Linked DNA regions of Homo sapiens: regions 2 and 3 are each linked to region 1. Evidence: promoter capture Hi-C in human tissues and cell types (Jung and others, 2019). All regions are on one chromosome and are shown on one strand. The core of a region is centred on a gene start or on the middle of the fragment in contact, and the rest is flanking DNA. Distances in the headings are between cores, read along the strand shown. Region 1 holds the start of MLNR (motilin receptor). Region 2 overlaps CAB39L (calcium binding protein 39 like). Region 3 overlaps FNDC3A (fibronectin type III domain containing 3A).

Region 1 (3,523 bases), core at 798-3,297:
GTGCTGGTTATCCCATCGTCTTCACGTTAGCGCTTGTCTCGGTGTAGCCCACCGTGTCTCCTCCAGTGTCCCCTGCAACTTCCCCCGCAGTGTCCCTGCTTCTGTGGAAGCCTCTCGGCCTGGACTTCCTTGCGAGCAGCAGTTTAAAGGCCGCCGCTCTGTACTTCTTTGAAATGAGGTTGTAGAGGATTGGGTTGATAGATGCGCTCAGATAGAAAAGTTGCAGAGCGACGATGTTAAAGTACTGAGAGAAGTACATCATCCGCGAATCTTCCGTGTTTATGTAAATGATTCTGCCAACGTGGAAGGGCAACCAGCAAATTATAAATGCCAGAACCACCACCACTGCAACATAAGACACAGCACCGGGATTAACAAAAGCATTGGGAAGCAAATAAACCCCCCACCCCGACAAGGAACCATCTGCAATAACAAGTAACAGCAAAATAAATTAGAGAAAACTTCTACCTAGGCAGATCCTCACCCCAGAAAAAATGACCAGGCTGCAGGCTGCATGGATACTTGCTTTAAAACTGCATAGTAGGCTCCCATATGTGTTATCAAGGCTGGACATAAACCAGAAGGAGCAATTTCTCTGAACAAGCCGCCTTGGCAGGCTTCCTTCCACAAACCCACTTCGGAGACAAGTTTTCTGTTCTCTGTTGAAAAGAATTCTACAACAGGTCTGCACAATCTTTACTTTTTGATACGAGCAAGGTTTACTTTAGCCTTCAGCATCACTTAACATTAAATAAAAAATTTTAGCTTAATGAAATCTCCCTCGTCTTCTCAAGAGCACTGTGAGGACTCCTCATCTGTGGCATCTAACAGGTGGTTGGATTAAGAATTACCAACTCTCCTTTCTGGTCTCAGAGGCTCTGGAAAAGCACTGCTGGTTACTGAATCGGATCCGGGGATCCCACCCTCAAAGCGCCCTGGGGTCCCCCAGAGCTCCTGGGGGACAGGACATGGTTTTCTCGGGGGATGGGAAGTACCGGCGGGTGGAGGCTGGAATCGAAATAGGAAAGGGAGCTGGAAGCGGCGCCCAGAGCTGGGCGAGCAGGGGAAGGGGACCCAGCGTTTGCGCGGTCCCCGGCGGGGCGGACTGCAGGCAGGCGTCTTTGGAACCACGGCGGCTCCACTTACGCAGGACGCGGACGGTCTGCCGGTGGCCTCTCTCCCGCCCCGAGGCGGCCGGGCCTCGCAGCGGCCGCCGGCTGCTCCACAGCTCCCGCCCGATGAGCCCGTAGAGGATGCTGAGGCACAGAAAGGGCAGGAAGAAGTAGGCGGTGGTGACCCACAGCATGACACGCAGCGCGCCCAGCTGCGCGGGGCTCGGCCGGCATTCGCGGCTGAACAGCGCCGCGGCCTCCGCGGTCTCGGGCCCCGACGGCGGGGACGGCGGTGGCGCCCGCGAGAGCCAGAGAGGCGGCGACGAGGCGAGAGGCGAGGAGGCGATCCGCGCGGTGCCATTGAGGCCCGGGACTACGGAGATGCCGGGGTCCTGCTCGACGCCCACCAGGAACAAGAAGGGACCGGCAGAGAGCAGCGCCACGGCCCAGAGCACAGCGATGAGCGCGCGGACGCGGCGCCGGGTGACCAAGACGCGGGCGCGGAGCGGGCGGCAGATGGCCAGGTAGCGCTCGACGCTGAGCGCGGTCATGTGCAGCAGCGTGGCGTAGGTGCAGCCCTCGCCCACGTAGAGGGACAGGCGGCAGAGCAGCGGCCCGAACACCCAGGGCCGCGAGCGCCAGAGGCGGTACAGGTCGAACGGCAGCCCGAGCAGGATGAGTAGGTCGGACACGGCCATGCTGCCCAGGTACAAGTTGGTGGTGGTCCGCATGTCCCGGTAGCGCCCGATCAGCATCACGGTCACCACGTTGCCGCTCACCCCGACGACGAACAGGCACAGGCACACAGCGGTCACCGGCACCAGCGCCCCCAGGGGAAAGGGCGAGCAGCGGCGCTCGTCGCAAGGCGGCAGCGCGGGCCACGGCGGCTCCCGCGCCCCCTCGGGGCCGTCGCTGCCGTTCCAGGGGCTGCCCATGGGTGCTCCGCGCGGCCGCCGCGTCCCGGGTCGGGCTGGGAGCCTGGCGCGTGGTCCCTCTCGGTGAGCGCCTCCTTTCCCAGCCCGCACGCTGCGGGCGCGGCAGGTCAGACGGCGGAGCGCTGCGCTGCGCTGCGGGGCGCGAGAAGCGGCTCTGCGGGGTGGGCTCCGAGGCGCTCCCGAGCTAGCTGCGCGCAGTCTCCGCCCACGGCCGCGGCCCGCCCCGGCCCGGCCCTGCTCCGCTCCCGCGCCCTCTCCCGGGCCCATGCAGTTCCAGGGCGCTTCCCTCTCCACTAACTGGAATACCCGGCGCCCTTAGCGCACGAGCCCTACCCGGTCCGGTGAGCGATGTCTGCACCCTAGACAGCTTTGGTTACAGGACTGAGCACTGTACGGGCGCTTTTGTCAGTCTGGTACTCCGGGCACCTTCGAAGGGATCTGGTCTGGTGGCTGGTAGCTGCCGCTTGACGGTGGAGGAGGGCTCATGGTAATCCTCAGGAAGCCATAATGCTAAATAATAGGAGGGGAGTCTAGACCAGAATCTAGAGCCTCTCCTGTCTAATCCTGGCTCTACAACCGAGTAACTTGTGTAATCTTGGGCTAGTCCTGGTCTCGCCCAGCCCAGTTCTCCTCTTCTGTAAATTCGCGAGTGGTGGAGGGAGCTGACCATATAATTGACCAAATAATTTCTTTTTTTTCTTTTTTTCTTTCTTTCTTTCTTTTTTTCTTCTTGAGACAGGGTCTCACTGTCGTCCAGGCTGGAGTTTAAGTGGCGCGATCACAGCTCACTGCAGCCTCGACCTCCCAGGCTCAAGCAGTCCTCCCACCTCAGCCTCCTGAGTAGCTGGGAGCACAGGAGCGCCCAAGCCCCGGCTAAATTTTGTGTTTTTTGTGTAGTCAGGGTTTCGCCATGTTGGCCAGCCTGGTCTCGAACTCCTGACCCCAGGTGGTCCACCCGCCTCGACCTCCCAAAGTGCTGGGATTACAGGCGTGAGCCACCGCGCCCGGCAGTGACCAGATAATTTCAAGGATCCGTGAGCATGTTTACTTATTATAAAGAACAAGACAAATATTTACGTGGACACTAGAGTACTTTCACATGTGATATGTCATTCTTATGTACAACATGTTTTATAAACTTAAAAAACTAGAGGATTTGTCAACACCGGAAAGAACGAAAATTGGGGAAAGGGGCTAAAACGGATGTTCAGTCTGTTCGGTGTGGTCTTAATAACAATAGCTAACACTTACTGAGAATTTAGATGGATCTGGCCCTGTGCTCTCCATTTAATCCTCATGGCCCGGGGCGCTCCTTTCGCCCATGAACAAAGCGGTCTTGCTTGAGATCAAGCAGGCAGTAAGAGGCGGGACTGGGATATGGGCTCTGGTCGGCCTAATCCCAGAGCTTGCAAGCCTGACGTCCTACTCACTGCCCAGCTCCACCCCCTCAGTGGCTTAAATCCTCAACCTCTTCTC
Region 2 (3,425 bases), core at 713-3,212, 210 kb before region 1:
AAGCACACGCATACACACTCTTGTGATGGAGATAGATTTTACAGAAATTGTCGCTGGTGACTGAAATTAGTAAAGGTGCGAACTAAAAGTGGTGGAGTAGAAAAGAAAAAATCTAGCAGGCATGGGTTTTCATGATGTTGTTAAAAGCAAGAAACCCTTCAAAGCTTCCCTTTATGACCCTTCAGTGCTCTTCTATGTTTTGTGCTAGGAAACAATAGAAATATGAAAGAGCTAAAATTTTACTGAACATCTAAGGGGAAGAAAGCATCCTTCAGTCAGGAAAGCCTTCCCACAGCCTTTTTGTAAACACTGACCTTTAAGATACTAGTTTAAATAAATTGTGTTTCTTCCTTTTGAAGATGGGGGCTGTTGGAGATTTCAGAGGTACTAGAGCGCCCTTTACCCAAACTAACGCTTTATGTTTCCACTGGTTTCCCTTGATGATAAATATATTTTTCATTCAGTTCAATACTACTGTTTGAAAGGTCTGCCACTTGAGTTATTGGGATATGAAAATTTACCTGTTTTAATTTGATGTATTAGTATTTGATTATGATGGAAATTTAATTTGTAATTCTGTATACCTGAAAGCAATAAGAAAATATGTTGGATTTACTATAAAGACTTTAAAAATTAATTTTAAAGCTTTTCTTTTTGTCAGAAGCTGTGGTGATCAGTGACTTTGGTGAAAGCTAAGAAGGTTCAAACAAATTTGCAAATGATATACAACTTCTAAGGTAAGCTAGTATGATGACTCAATCAAGATTTTAAGTGCTCTCGACAGACGTGTAGACTATGCTCAACATACCAAAATAAAATGTATCAGGAATAAATATAATATTGTATTTAAATGTTATAAAGCAGTTGCAGAAATAGTAGACTGATTTGTAGCAATATGATAGACTAGAGAGCCTGAATTCCTCCCTCCACCAAACATGTAAAGTACTAGATTCAGTATAAAAAATATCCTTTAACATGAATGGATGAGCCCATTAAGAAAATAAGGGAAACTTTCTGGGGCTAGAAACAAAACAAGTATAATATATCCTGTGAGATAAGCAGGTGCTGAAGTCATTGAATACTTTGGGGGCATCCATGGATTTCTGTTGGCATTGAAGCTTTGTGTAAGGAGCAGGATGAGGACTAGAGAAAAAGATCCCTGGGTCCCATATAAAGGTAAGAAGCCTGGTCAGAGACCATCTTGCAAAGATATTCAGTTCTGGGTAGACTTAAAATCTTCCCTAATAATTCTTGGTTATCAGCTCACATTCACTTGAATTTGGGGCCTTAATTTACACAATTTTTACAGTTTCTAAAACTCCACAAGTGGAGGATTTTAATTTAAATTGGACCTCAGTCTGTAATACTCTCAGGTACCTTGTAAGAACAATAAAAAAATCCTCCATGGAGGAATGTACGATCAATGCATTCATCAAATAATTGTAGTTAAAATTCTAACAAATAAGCTCATACACATTTTTTAAAATTACAAAATGTAACAAGGGAGAAAACATCAAAACACCAAGAGCAAGAGTCAGCAGAAACAGCAAACAACTGAAAGAGATCTATAGAGATTTCGATTATTAGAAATATACATTACATGAAATAAATATGTTTATGGCCAGTTGCAGTAGCTCACACTTATAATCTCAGCACTTTGGGAGACTGAGGCAAGAGGATCGCTTGAGCCCGGGAGTTCAAGACCAGCCTGGGCAATATAGTGAAACCCTGTCTCTACAATAAATAGAATTAGCTGGGTATGGTGGTGCGTACCTCAGGAGGCTGAGGTGGGAGGATTGCTGGAGCCTGGGGGTCAAGGCTGCAGTGAGCCATGGTCACACCACTGCACTCCAGCCTGGGCAACAGATCAAGAGCTTGTATGTATGTCTAAATATGTATATATGTACATAGTTTAATATGTTCAATAAATAAAATAGGGATTATAAAATAAATAAAGAGTAAGGGGCTATAAAGTGACCAGGTACATTAAAAAAAGAATTGGCAAGAAATAAATACTCGTTTTTTTGTTCTGCTTTTACTCAGCTTAGTTATTCTGAGATTTATCTGTATTGTCTGTAATGTATATTAATAGTTTATTCCTTTTTATTGCCAAGTAGTATGTCACTTTATGAATATACCACAATTTGTTTATCTGTGCTGTGTAGATGGAGATGAATTGTTTCTAATTTTTAGCTAATACAGATAAAGATACTATGAATATTCATGTATAAGTTTTTATATGGACATATGCATTCTTTTCTTTTGAGTGAATTCCTGGGAATGGAATGGTAGGTAGATTTTTTTTACTTTTTGTTTTTTATTTTATTTTTTGTTTTTTATTTTTTTTTAAGACAGAGTCTCACTCTGTTGTCCAGGCTGGAGTGCAGTGGTGCAATCTTGGCTCACTGCAGCCTCCACCTCCCAGGTTCAAGCAATTCTCCTGCCACAGCCTCATAAGTAGCTGGGATTACAGGAGTGTGCCACCAAGCCCAGGTAATTTTTTAATTTTTAGTAGCAATGGGGTTTCACCATGGTGGCCAGGCTGGTCTGGAACTCCTGACCTCAAGTGATCCACCCGCCTTGACCTCCCAAAGTGCTGGGATTACAGACGTGAGCCACCACGCCCAGCCTTTTTTTATTTTTTAAGAAGCTGCTAAAACCGTTTTCCAAAGTAGTTATTAACAGGTAATTGAATAACAAAATTGTGGTATATCTATACAATGGAATACTCCTCAGCAATATTTGTAACAAAGTGGATGAACCCCAGAACAATTACGCTATGTGAAAGAAGCCAGACAAAAAAGAATATATTACACTTATTAAAAGTTCTGAAAAATATAAGTGCTGTATTGCAATGGAAGCATATCAAATGCAGAGGAGACAACAAGGAAAGGGAGGAAAGGAATTCAAAGGGACAGGAAAGATTTAGGAGGTTCACTATCTTGATGTGATGATGGTTTCACAGGTAAATACACATATGTCCAAACTTTTTGAGTTGTACGCTTTAAATATGTGCAGCTTATTGTTAATTATTTCTTAACAGAACACTTTTTAAAGAAACAAAGCCAGAAAATAGAAACAGTGAATAGAGGAACATGTCTTGATAATAATTCATGTGAAAGGCTTGCAGATTGAGTTTCTATTTGGATTATATGACTATTAAGCCTTTCAGTGCAATTCTATGAAAATAGGAAGAGAACAGGTATGACACTTGCGGTATTAACAGGAATTACGAATTAGGCTTCAAAGATTTGATAACATCAGCAAAGATAGCCTTAGGCAGCCATGTCGATACCAGTCTCACCTCCAGATCAGAAACATCCAGACCCTGAGACCAGACAACTCACCTAGAGTGTACTTGAGAAAAAGTTTAGTCTCTAGGATAAAATAAGAAATAACTAAAATCATTAACTTCCTAAATAAAG
Region 3 (3,630 bases), core at 129-2,628, 240 kb after region 1:
GGTCCACAATGCCTAAAATATTTACTACCTTCTCTTATATTAAAAAAGTTGCTGACTCCAGTAGTACTGGTCAAACTCAAGGAGTTCATAGTTGAATAGCTGATTTAGACAAGTAAAAAATATATATACATTACAGTATGATATATACAACCCAGATATTCTGTGGGTATTATGGAAACATTTTGCATTTAAATATTAAAAGACAGGAAGGACTCACACAAGTGAAAAGACACAAGATATTTTAATTATTTAAAAATATGTATTTATTTACATATCATTATCTCTCATCCCATTCTGTAAATTTCTAAAGGGGAGGGAGTGTGACATTCATTTTTGTGACATTCAACATTCATATTCTAAGTATCTAGGACATTTTAAATGTTCAACAAATGATAGGCAAATGAATAAATGAATGATATGCAGGATGCCTGAGTGACAATGATTAGGTATGTCTGTCAAAGTTCTAGATATAAATATCCTATGGCAAGCATTTTACTTGTCATGTTAAATAGGATCTTTTAATTCTTGTACAGTCTATATTAGGAGATAGCTACTATTATTACTACACTGTAAAATGAACGAACCAAGGCTCATACAGGTAAAGTAGCACACTCATGTTTCTATACAGCCAGTATGAGAAGTCAACTAACAATCCTGTGGCTGCCTAATGAGAAATATGTTCTCTACACTATATCACAAAGTTGTAAAGAGGTAAGAAATGATGACACAATAGGATATCAACAGAGTATGGACTCTCAAAGACAAAGGAAATTATAATTAATGCAGCAGGAATTGTATTGTGATTTCGATTTCTAAAACTGGGGAATGATCTGAATAAATTCATGTTTTTTAAATATCCTGGAAGCAGCCTAAAAGATGGTTAGAGGGGCAGTAGCCCCTACATTTTACCCAAAGGCTACTCTGTCACACACACTAGGCCAGTTTTAGTAAGGTTCAAGTGATTAAAACAAAAATGCGAACATACTATTTCAGGAATACCAATCTGAAGCATCAGGAAAAGCTGATCCTAATAGTTACTAAAGAAACAAAAAGGTACTTCATAAACTATGAAGGTACTATGCTAAAAATTTTTTTTAGGTATATATTACAAATGAAAATATTACATGGAAAAAAATCAAGTCATAAGAACAAAGACATAATTGAGAATGTCTGTCTTAAGAAAACAAAAAAAATTTAGAAAATTTAAACATAAAATCGCAAATTATGAATTTTCACTTTTTATTTAAGCAAATCTTAAGAAAAACTGATTTTAAAGTAAATGAAATGACTAATCCTTCAAGTTATGGCTCAACAAAAGTAGTTGCTGTATATGGCATATACTTCTATAAAGCAAAGCACGTAATTACTTTCTAATAAAAGTCTAAACTGTGATTTAAAGTGTACTTAAATATCTGTTTAGAACCCCTAGAGAAGTAAGATTTTTTTGCCTCCCAAATTATGTGTCTGTCGGTTTAGAATATACATAAACCAATTAAAGTAATCCCTCACTGAAGAAGTAGTGAAGCGAAATCATTTAAGTTTTTAAAAGTTCAAATATATATTAAAATATGGATTCTGAGGAAAGAAAACAGATACAACACTTTTTTTTCCCCCAGCATTTCTGATAGAGGCTGATTAACATACACAATCTAATTTACCAAACTTAGGTAACTTTTACACCAAGGCTTACTTCAAAGTATACATTGCACTTTGTATTTCTAGCAACTAGCACATAAGAGATCTCAAGAAGTGAAGGAGAAAGAGATATGGAAGTCAATCAGAAGTATAGTTCATCTGTAAAATGAGAATACCACCACATATCTGGCAGGTTTGTATAGGATTTTAAAAATAAGCAAGTATAGGTTCTAAAATTCAATGAGCTCAACTGAATGTTTACTGGAAACATACTATGTTTACAGAACTTTGGAGGATAAAGCTTGAACTCTGGTCTTAAAAAAAAAAAAAGGCTGCATTGCTTCCAATATAGTAGCATTAATGTAAGCACTTTTATGGTATGTATTTTAATGCTTTTATAGTTTCCAACATCTCTGTGGGTTCTCACAATATCTTTGAGGAAAACAGGATAGATATTATTCTCTATTTTAATGCTTAGAAAACCAAGATTGCAAGAAACTAACCCAAAATCATATAGGTAATAAGTGGTGAAGTTAGAACTAAGAACTAGACTTTTGAGTCACCATCCAAGGTACTTTAATTTACCTCTTGTTTAGCAAATGGAAACAGCTGGCATGGTGAAGCTGTTTCAAGCATTCACAAAAAAAGAGGGAGGGCATGAATTTCTCCTTAAACTAAAATTTAAAAAGTAAAAATTGTATTAAGTAGCAATTTATGAAGGCTGTTATTTAAATCAAAAGCTTTATATTGCCTTAAAATTACGGTACTGTATGTACTAAGTATGAAAAATGCTAATAATAAATTAAAGTACAAAAGTTAAGTTTCATGATTTTGTTTGGTTGGTTTTAATGTTTTTAACAGGAAGAAAGAAGCATCACTGATTCTGTCCAGGTTGCTTCCCATCTTATACATCTGTACTTTTTCCAGCACCTAATACTAACCCTGATATATGGAATGTACTGATGCCTGCTTAATGAAAAAATGCTCTCATGATGTATTCTTGCTCTCTTGATGCCACAAAAAATACAGTTGCCCCAGCCAATTGATTTGTGCAGCCACAGCGTGAGGCATCACTATTCACCTGGTAATGGCACATGAACCACAGTATACTGAAGGAAACAGAACTGCCTTAGAAATAGATATCTATAAATTTAGAAACTTCAGAGATGTTTCATGTAAATTACTTTTCAAAACAGCTGATACTTATATCCTTTAAATCACCATAACTTATCTTAAAAAAATCTTAATTATTTGTAAAGAGATCTCTAGGTCTTTCTTCCGTGCCTTAATGTGCACATGATATAATCTTTTCTTGATGACTCAAGCTCATCAATGTAAATATCAATTATTAGACTGTTCCATAACAGAGTGATTCTTTCTGGAGTACTGCAGAATGTCCAACTGCTTGTCCCTTTATTAACTCATCCTAGACTACTTCTAAAAACAAAGATCCCTACTGCCTGCTCCTCTGTTGTCACTTACAGACCACCAGCATCCTAGACAAGGTTTTTAACCTGCCAGCTGTTTTTAAAAATGTAAAACCAGCACAGGCAGTTGATACACCTAACCTTATACAAATTCTAAATCAAGCCACTGTGTAGCTATTTTCACTGTAGTAAGGCCTGACTCAAAGGCTTTTCGTCTTTCACTTCCTAATTCTGAGACCTATTCTAGGCTCTTGTTAGAAGTCTGGCCACAAAATAACAATTACAGAAGCACTTATTTCTACATACTTTTTTTTTAGGATAACATAAGGAAAAATATATACATGATAGTCATAAAACGCCCAAACCACCATATAGACAAGATGATGCAAGAAATTTCACAGTATGTGCTATATGGACAATTACTTTGCCAATTATTACCTAGCAGTCAGCAAACTAGGTCCCCTGGCCAAATCCAGTCCACAGATGGCTTGTTTTTGTTTGGCTCTTGAGACAACAATGTAAAAATTTTTACGTTTTTAAAAGATTATAAAAAACTAACAAACAAACA

What was found. The method cuts DNA at HindIII sites, captures the fragments that hold promoters and counts their contacts. A contact is called where the count stands out against the background at its distance.
Region 2: a fragment that was not itself captured here is called in contact with the fragment with the promoter of MLNR in region 1 in 1 of the 25 tissues and cell types used here (aorta).
Region 3: a contact is called between a fragment that was not itself captured here and the fragment with the promoter of MLNR in region 1, in 2 of the 25 tissues and cell types used here (lymphoblastoid cells and spleen).

Annotation. Positions count from the first base shown.
Region 1 is chr13:49,218,862-49,222,384 of GRCh38, reverse strand. It overlaps MLNR (motilin receptor), which reads right to left and starts at 2,047. Exons shown (of 2, transcript NM_001507.1): 1 at 1,147-2,047; 2 at 8-345. The coding sequence starts at 2,047. The coding sequence ends at 8. RefSeq lists silencers at 2,015-2,094, 2,165-2,424, 2,361-2,617. The HindIII fragment of the contact is 10,157 bases long and covers 1-3,523 here.
Region 2 is chr13:49,430,630-49,434,054 of GRCh38, reverse strand. It overlaps CAB39L (calcium binding protein 39 like), which reads left to right. Exons shown (of 11, transcript NM_001079670.3): 3 at 662-737. Among named protein-coding and RNA genes, the nearest start is that of CAB39L, 12 kb to the left of the region's middle. The HindIII fragment of the contact is 3,113 bases long and covers 406-3,425 here.
Region 3 is chr13:48,979,816-48,983,445 of GRCh38, reverse strand. The region is part of intron 1 of FNDC3A (fibronectin type III domain containing 3A); the gene reads right to left. Among named protein-coding and RNA genes, the nearest start is that of FNDC3A, 5.7 kb to the right of the region's middle. The HindIII fragment of the contact is 3,386 bases long and covers 1-3,071 here.